Regions from separate parts of the Homo sapiens genome. Here region 1 is linked to region 2. The links are contacts of gene promoters, found by promoter capture Hi-C in human tissues and cell types (Jung and others, 2019). All regions are on one chromosome and are shown on one strand. The core of a region is centred on a gene start or on the middle of the fragment in contact, and the rest is flanking DNA. Distances in the headings are between cores, read along the strand shown.

The links. The method cuts DNA at HindIII sites, captures the fragments that hold promoters and counts their contacts. A contact is called where the count stands out against the background at its distance.
Region 1: a contact is called between a fragment that was not itself captured here and the fragment with the promoter of SLC18B1 in region 2, in 1 of the 25 tissues and cell types used here (mesenchymal stem cells).

The regions. Positions count from the first base shown.
Region 1 is chr6:133,899,121-133,903,128 of GRCh38, forward strand. No RefSeq gene overlaps it. Among named protein-coding and RNA genes, the nearest start is that of TCF21, 12 kb to the left of the region's middle. The HindIII fragment of the contact is 4,638 bases long and covers 11-4,008 here.
Region 2 is chr6:132,796,876-132,801,123 of GRCh38, forward strand. SLC18B1 (solute carrier family 18 member B1) reads right to left here and starts at 1,762. Exons shown (of 14, transcript NM_052831.3): 1 at 1,539-1,762; 2 at 107-246. The coding sequence starts at 1,581. RefSeq lists an enhancer at 48-548 and a silencer at 1,780-1,829. The HindIII fragment of the contact is 3,873 bases long and covers 1-3,425 here.

The sequences.
Region 1 (4,008 bases), core at 1,080-3,579, 1.1 Mb after region 2:
TTTATAGAGGCTATCATATTTCATCTTCAAAACAACCCTGACCCAGAGGTATTATTATCCTCACTTTTTTTTATAGGGCAACTGAAACTCAGAGATGGAAAATAAATTGCCAAGAGCTATATAGTGAAAAAGTGGCAGAAAGCTGAGTATAGAATTCTTTTATTTTGTTGAAACTACCTTGAATGTAGGAGGGTCCCAGAATAAAAGAAATTTTAAAAACTGTAGCCATACAAAGGAAAGAAATACTTCCAATAAAAGCATGACATTAAGCCTTTTTAAAATTAGAATTTGTATTTTATACTTACTTAAGGATCTCTTTTAGACTTATTTATAACTTTATTTTAATCCTATATTGCCATTAAGGATACATAAAAGGAAATTATAAGCAAAATAAACTAGTTAAAATATTCCAAAAATTATTTTATATTCAGAGCCTAATTCATTCTGAATCATTTAGTCAATCCCAGTCATGAAAGTCTTGTGACTTTTTATTATGTAACAGTTTTTGTCATAAAAGAAACCATCCTGAAACCCAGTGGCTTAAAAGCAATAAGCTTTAGTTGTTACTCAGGAATCTGAGTTAGTTAAGAGGCTCTGCTGATCTGAGCTGAGCTCTACTGTTCTTGCTGGGGCTTGCCCATACATTTTTGGCTGGCTGTCTATTTGGCTAGGAGCTAGCTGGTCAAGAACAGCCTCACTCACATGCCTGGTGGCTGGCCAGTTATTGGCTAGGGTATGAGGAAAACCAAACCATGCATTTTTTTTTTTTTTTTTTTTAGACAGGGTCTGCCTCTGTCACCCAGGCTGGAGTGTAGTGACACAATCTTGGCCCACTGCAACCTCCACCTCCTGTGCTCAAGCAATCCTCCCACCTCAGCCTCCCAAGTAGCTGGGACTACAGGTGCATACCACCACACCCAGCTTTTTTTCTTTTTTAGTAGAGACAGGGTTTCACCATGTTGCCCAGGCTGGTCTCGAACTCCCGACCTCAAGCAACTCACCTAGCTTGGCCTCCCAAAGTGCTGGGATTACAGGTGTGAGCCACTGGGTCCAGCTAAACCATGCATCTCTAATCATCCCATAGGCTAGTTTGTTCTTGTAGCAACTAGGGAGGGAACAGAAAGTCATAAGGCCTGTTGGACCTAGGTTTACAACAGGTATAGTGCCACTTCTGCTGTGTTCTATTGGCTAAAGCCAGTCACAAGGGCATCCCAGATTCAAGAGATAGGGAAATAAATTTTACCTCTCAATGGGAGAAACTACAAATGCACTTTGCTTAGAACATGTAGACTGTGTACGTGTGGAAATTTAGAACTATTTTTATAATTAATCTACCACACAAAAGTTTTTTTAAAAAAATTCTTTGGCCCTTCTGAATAATTTTCCACTTTGAAAGGTCAATATCTAGTGATTTACCACCCAATTTTATCTTCTGGTTTATTAAGAACATTTCTTAGAAGAGTTCTCTGTTATCTCTGTAATTTTCTTCCAAGCAACTGATACCCATTCTATAGTTTTAATATTGACTCTTTCTTGATATTTTTGGCAGGGAGCATAATGAAAATAGCAACATAAATTAGTCACACCAAGCTTTCTTTTACTTATTCTTACAAATTTGGAGGTTTCCCTAACCCTAGTTGCATTGTTTGGCCTGTGTAGTGGGCTAAATGGTGGCCTCAAAGAAATCAGATTCTAATTCCTGGAAACCGTAAATATTACCTTAATTGGAAGAAGGGTCTTTGCAGATATGATTAACGATTTTGAGATGGAGAGATTATCCTTGGTTGTTTGGGTAGGCCCTAAATGCCATCACAAGTGTCCTTATAAGAGAAAGGGAGAGGGGGATTTGATGCACAGAAGAGAAAATGGTGATGTGAAGACAGAAGTAGAGATTTAAATGATGCAGCCACAAACAAAGGAAGAGTAGCAGCCACCAGAAACCAGAAGAGGCAAGGAAGAGATTGTCCCCTAAAGCCTCCAAGGGAACATGGCTCCGCCTACACCTTGATTTCAACCCAACAAAACTGTCATTGAACTTCCAGCCTCCAGAACTAAGAGAAGAGTAAATTATTGTCAGCTGAAGGCACCAAGTTTGTGGAAATTTATTAAGGCAGCCACAGGAAACTAATACAGCCTGTGTTAGGCAATCCTTTGCATGTATCTCAGTAACCAAATATCACAGGATCATCTACTTATTGTTTACTTTTTTTCTTATGCCCCAAAAAGCACTTTGATGTTAATTTGTAAGAAAATATGGAATTATGGATATTCTTCCAATGGCAAATGCCTTTGTTACTACACATTGATTCTCTATTTCCATTACTTTCTATGCATAAAATAACATTTTTTCAATATGGAATCAGAGCATAATCTTTGTAAAGACATTCTTCAACTGCAGTTGAATCCATTATAGCTCCGACAATACAAATTGTTGAAACAAAGAGACCAATGTTAAGATGCATCCTGATTTTAGAAATGTGAAAATGGGCCAGGCGTGGTAATTCACATCTATAATCTCTGTACTCTGGGAGGCCAAGGCGGGTGGATCACTTGAAGTCAGGAGTTCGAGTCCAGCCTGCCCAACATGATAAAACCCCATCTCTACTAAAAATACAAAAATTAGCCAGGTGTGGTGGTGTGTGACTGTAATCCCAGCTACTCCAGAGGCTGAGGCAGCAGAATCACTTGAACTCAGGAGGCAGAGGCTGCAGTGGGCTGAGATTGTGCCACTGCATTCCAGCCTAGGTGGCAGAGAGAGACTCCATCTCAAAAAAAAAAAAAAAAAAAAAAGTGAAAATTTGGGGAGAAAATGCATCTTAGAATGATGATATATAGTAACTCATTTCACTCTGAGCTGGACTCTACTGTTCTTGCTGGGGCTTGCTCTTATATCTGTGGCTGCCTGGCTATATGCATCATCATTGAGTGTCCACCGTATGCATGACCCTGTGCTACACATTGGAAATAGCTGAATTAGAGGACACGTTCCTGACTTCCAGCTTGAGTATTCCTCAGAAGACCCAATCACTTTTCTGCAAGGACCTGGCAGGGGAGGGCAATCTTGTGTTCTGAAAACTGCCAGCTGTGCCAGTTTCCACAAGGGTCAGCTACCAGGACATGCTGGCTGCCCCTGCCGTACTCTACCACTAGGCTACTGACACCTCAGCCTGCCATTCATGTAGCTAGCCCAAAATGGAGCACTCCCACCTGCCTCTATCCCAGACTAACCAATTAACCAATGGTGGGCAAGTATCTGAAGAAGTGATTCCAAAAGATCCCTCCCTGTATCTAAGGTAGTTGTCCTGGAGGTTTTTATTTTCCCAAGGCTGAAATTGGACTCTGGCCATTTGGAGATGAGCTATATACGGTGGGCCATCATTCTGCTACATGGATATGGGCAGCCATCTTGTAAATATGTACTTTTGGTCCTAAGTGAAAAAATTTTTAAATATGATAGATGTGTTCACAGAAACTTACCTCCACTACTGGAAAATCAACTCAAAAACTATGAATGATAGACCATCAGAGTGATAGCTGAGCTAATTTTTCATTCCCCACCTCCCAAGGCCCTCTGCATCATCTTAGGGACCATCCCCTCAAACAGTTCATCAATTTTCCAAACCTTTTTGTCTCTAGAACCTGTCTTTTGCTTTTTCTTCTCTTTTGAATCTTATACATTAACTCATAAATTATATGATACTGAATTCCACTATCCTTCTCAATATTTCATATCAGGTACATTCAAATGTATTAGAATAAGTTTTTTAAAAAGTAATATTTCCTTTTTTGGGGGGGGGGGACGGGGTCTCACTTTGTCACCCAGGCTGGAGTGCAGTGGCGCGATCTTGGCTCCCTACAGCCTCTATGTCCTGGGCTCAAGCGATCCTCACACCTCAGCCACCCAAGTGGCTAGGACTACTGTGTGCTACCTTGCCTGGCTAATTTTTTAATATTATTTATAGAGACAGCGTTTCTCCATGTTACCCAGGCTGTTCTCAAACTCCTGAG
Region 2 (4,248 bases), core at 512-3,011:
TGCAGATTTTTACATTTTATATACTATAAAATAAAATAATTCAAAAGGCTTTTAAAAAACAAACAAACAAAAAAACAGAGGTCCTAAGGATTTAAAAATGTCTTACCTCTTTGGGGAAAAACGGTCCAAGTATAGAATAGCACATCATGGAACCTAAGTTCACCGAAGCTGCCGATATCAGTACAAAAACCTGTTCTCTCGAAAGCCACCCGGGGGTCTCTCCTGCACTTCCTGCAGGATCATCACCTTGAATGCAAACATGCAGCAATTAGGCATATAATTGAGACTACTGATTAAAGTACACAAATGTGATTTCTGTGCACATATGTTGCACTCTGAAGATATCATTTGCTAAGCTTAGGGCTATTTTGAATATAGCACATTTGATCAAATGGAACACAATCCTTGTACATTACTGCCGTTTTGAAAACGTACTGCTTTCGGCTGGGCACGGTGGCTCACGCCTGTAATCCCAGAACTTTGGGAGGCCGAGGCAGGCGGATCACGAGGTCAGGAGATCGAGACCATCCTGGCTAACACGGTGAAACCCCGTCTCTACTAAAAATACAAAAAATTAGCCGGGCGTGGTGGCGGGCCCCTGTATCCCAGCTACTCGGGAGGCTGAGGCAGGAGAATGGCGTGAACCCGGGAGGCGGAGCTTGCAGTGAGCCAAGATCGCACCACTGCACTCCAGCCTGGGCTACAGAGAGAGACTCCGTCTCAAAAAAGCAAAACAAAACAAACAAACAAAAACAAAAACAAAAACAAAAAACAAAGATTTCTAAGGCAGTATTGAAGTCAAATGAAGTGTAAGTAGGAGAAAACAAGCTAAATCATTCAGCTGGTGAATTAATATTTACAGCGGTATGCTTCTGGATAGACAAGTCCCACAAATTCATAAATAAATACTTTTTTTTTACCCTAATTACTGGTCTTTTACATCAGTTAATTTAACACTTATTTCCAGGGCTAAATTGTCATTTAAAAACACGAAATCAATTACTGAGTTCCAAATATCCAAGCAAATCCATCAGCCATTTATAAATTAAATTGTTTTTAGGAAAAACTTAAGAGAAATACATTTGCTTTGCTCTATTTGTCAGAGGTTGCCATTGCAGTCCAGAAGGAAAAAAAAAATCAGTGCAACATGAGGAAGTCTTACGAATCTTTGTAAAATGTTTGTAGTAGATGAGAAAGGGAAATGAAAGTTAAAAAGAAAGGCAACAACAATGGGTACTTGAAAGGTAACGTTTTACATTTGCCTAATGGCATACTTATTTGAATGCATTAAACACACAGTACTTAAAAAGCAGAGGTATAGGTTAGAAAGTCATTAGAAACCGTGACACATATCCAATCCTGGAACTTTACCCCGTCCAGAGAGAAAAGAAACGCTGGCCCGAACCCCACGATCAGGCCCCAGCCTTTTCCAATCTCTCGGAAACAGATCAAGCTATAAGCAATTCAATCGTTGCTAAAGAGACACGCCGGAAGCCGCCGCTGGTCTCCGGGCTCCCGGCCACGCAATTCATGGTCACCTCCTGGTGCGCGTGGTCCCTCCAGGTCACCCAGCGCCTCCATCCCCGGTGCGTGGACTCCGGCGCCCCAGCTCCCGGCTTCAAGCCACGTCCTTGGACTCGACCTCCAAGGAGCCACTGGCACTCTGGCGGGCGGCCGCTGCTCAGCTGGAACCTGGCATCCCCGACTCCCTGCAGGCAGCGATCCGCCCGGCCCGGAGCTCCCCAAAGCCTTCCAGGACTCTGGGTCCCCGGGAGGAGGCCGGGGGCGGGGCAGGGGTGGAGCAAGGCTCCTTTTTTTTTTGTTTTGCGCCCCCCCCCCGCCTCATTATCTTAATCCACCACCTCAGCTGCTATATCATGGTGTCCTTTTTCATTCTGTGACAGAGAGTGAAAAAAGATGAGTCTATATTCCATACAGCTGTACCCCCCTCAATCTTAAAATAAGTTCAATTTATTCCTACGAAACGAAAGAAAGGAAGCTTATGTAGACACAGAAAAGGCAGGGAGTACCTCAACTGAAAGACACAAAAGTGAATTAGAAAATTAGGTTATACAGGAACTTTGAAAGAGTGAATTATTTTTCACAGTGGGTAAATGCGGTAGTGTTCGTAATTACTGAAGCCAGACACTATTGAACCGGAAATGAATTAACCTATGTGAAGCACCTGGAGTCGAAAAATATTTGCAAGAATACTAATGAATATCGAGGAAGCATGGCGAAGTGGCTAGGAGTGCGACCTCTGGAGGCAGGTGCCAGGGATTCAAGCCAGGGCACTTGCTGGCAGTGTGTAACTTTGGATGACAAGGTCAGTTTCTCTACCTGTACAACTGAGATTATAATGTTTATCTCGTAGGGCGGCTGTGAGCATTGGCGATAAAGTGTGTTAGTAGTTAGCACATGAACATGATGGCTGCTACCTTACTCTCACACTCACAGTTTTCTTGCATAAAAAATAGGTTTCACTTATTTTCACCGTATTTACTATTTGGGAAGTGTTAAAGCTCGAGGACTGGCTGGACACGGTGGCTCATGCCTGTAATCCCAGCAGTTTGGGAGGCCGAGGTGGGCAGCTCACCTGAGGTCAGGAGTTCTAGACCAGCCCGGCCAACATGGTGAAACCCTGTCTCTACTATAAAAATACAAAAAAATCAGCCAGGCGTGGTGGCAGGCACCTGTAATCCCAGCTACTAGGGAGGCTGAGGCAGGAGAATCGTTTGAACCTGGGAGGCGGAGGTTACAGTGAGCCAAGATCCAAAAGAATTGTGTGAGGGTAGCTTTATCGACTGAGAATCTGCCTCAGATCCACTGTACAAGGTCAGTTCCAGTACACAGTATGGCTGATAGTAAGTTTGTAATTACTGTGCCACCTCATTCCAGCCTGGGTGAAAAAGCGAAACTCTGTCTCAAATAAATAAATAAAGTTTAAGGACTGGGAAATTCTTGTTTTGAAGCCAAAGCAAAACAAAAGACTGAGTTACCACTTTGTGCCAGGCATTATGAATTTAAAGAGGAATGAGCCCCATCCAGACTCTGCCCTCAAGTAGCACACCTTCTAGCAGATGAAATTCACACTAATTAATAATCTACTATAATGCAATCGGTTGTATACAAACATATTGGAAGAACCATTTACTTTGGCAAATGGGTCCTGGATGACTTCCTGAGGAAGTGATGTTACCTTGGTTCTTGAAGGTTATGTAAAAACTCCCCAGTGAGGGCCGGGCGCGGTGGCTCACGCCTGTAATCCCAGCACTTTGGGAGGCCGAGGTGGGCGGGTCACGAGGTCAGAAGTTCGAGACCTGCCTGACCAACACGGTGAAACCCCGTCTCTACAAAAATACAAAAATTAGCTGGGCATGATGGCACCCAGCTACTCAGGAGACTGAGGCAGGAGAATCGCTTGAACCTGGGACTCGGAGGTTGCAGTGAGCAGAGATCATGCCATTGCACTCCAGCCTGGGCAACCGAGCGAGACTCCATCTCAAAAAAAAAAAAAAAAAAATTCCCCAGTGGGCAAGTTGTAAAGGAGAACCTAGAGAACCACTCTGAACAGAAAGTTCCACTCTAAGCCAGGTGCTGTGGCTCACGCCTGTAATCCTAGCACTTTGGGAGGCCGAGGCAGGCAAATCACCTGAGGTCGAGAGTTTGAGACCAGGCTGACCAACATGGAGAAACCCTGTCTCTACTAAAAATACAAAATTAGCTGGGCATGGTGGCGCATGCCTGTAGTCCCAGCTACTCGGGAAGCTGAGGCAGGAGAATCGCTTGAACCTAGGAGGCAGAGGTTGTGGTGAGCCAAGACAGCACCATTGTGCTCCAGCCTGGGCAACAAGAGTGAAACTCCATCTCAAAAAAAAAAAAAAAAAAAAAAAAAGAAAAGAAAAGAAAGTTCCAATCTAGCAAAGTTTCCCTAAAGTAGCCTTATGAAATCTTTATGATCTAACCCCTGACAGCTTCTCCAATCTCATTTAACTCTATGCTTTCTCTTCAATCTAACATCAATCTGTAGAGGGAAATTTTCTTGAATGATTTCTTTGATGATTACATTTCCTCTTTTATTTTCTTTCTGGACTGCACTTTATGTGAATGTTGGGTCACCCAAACTGGTCCTTTTACTTATTTCTCTTTTTCTTCTCTCTTTTATTTTATTTTATTTTTTTTAGACAGGGTCTCACTCTGTTTCCCAAGCTACCATGACATATAATGGCTCACTGCAACCTCAAATTC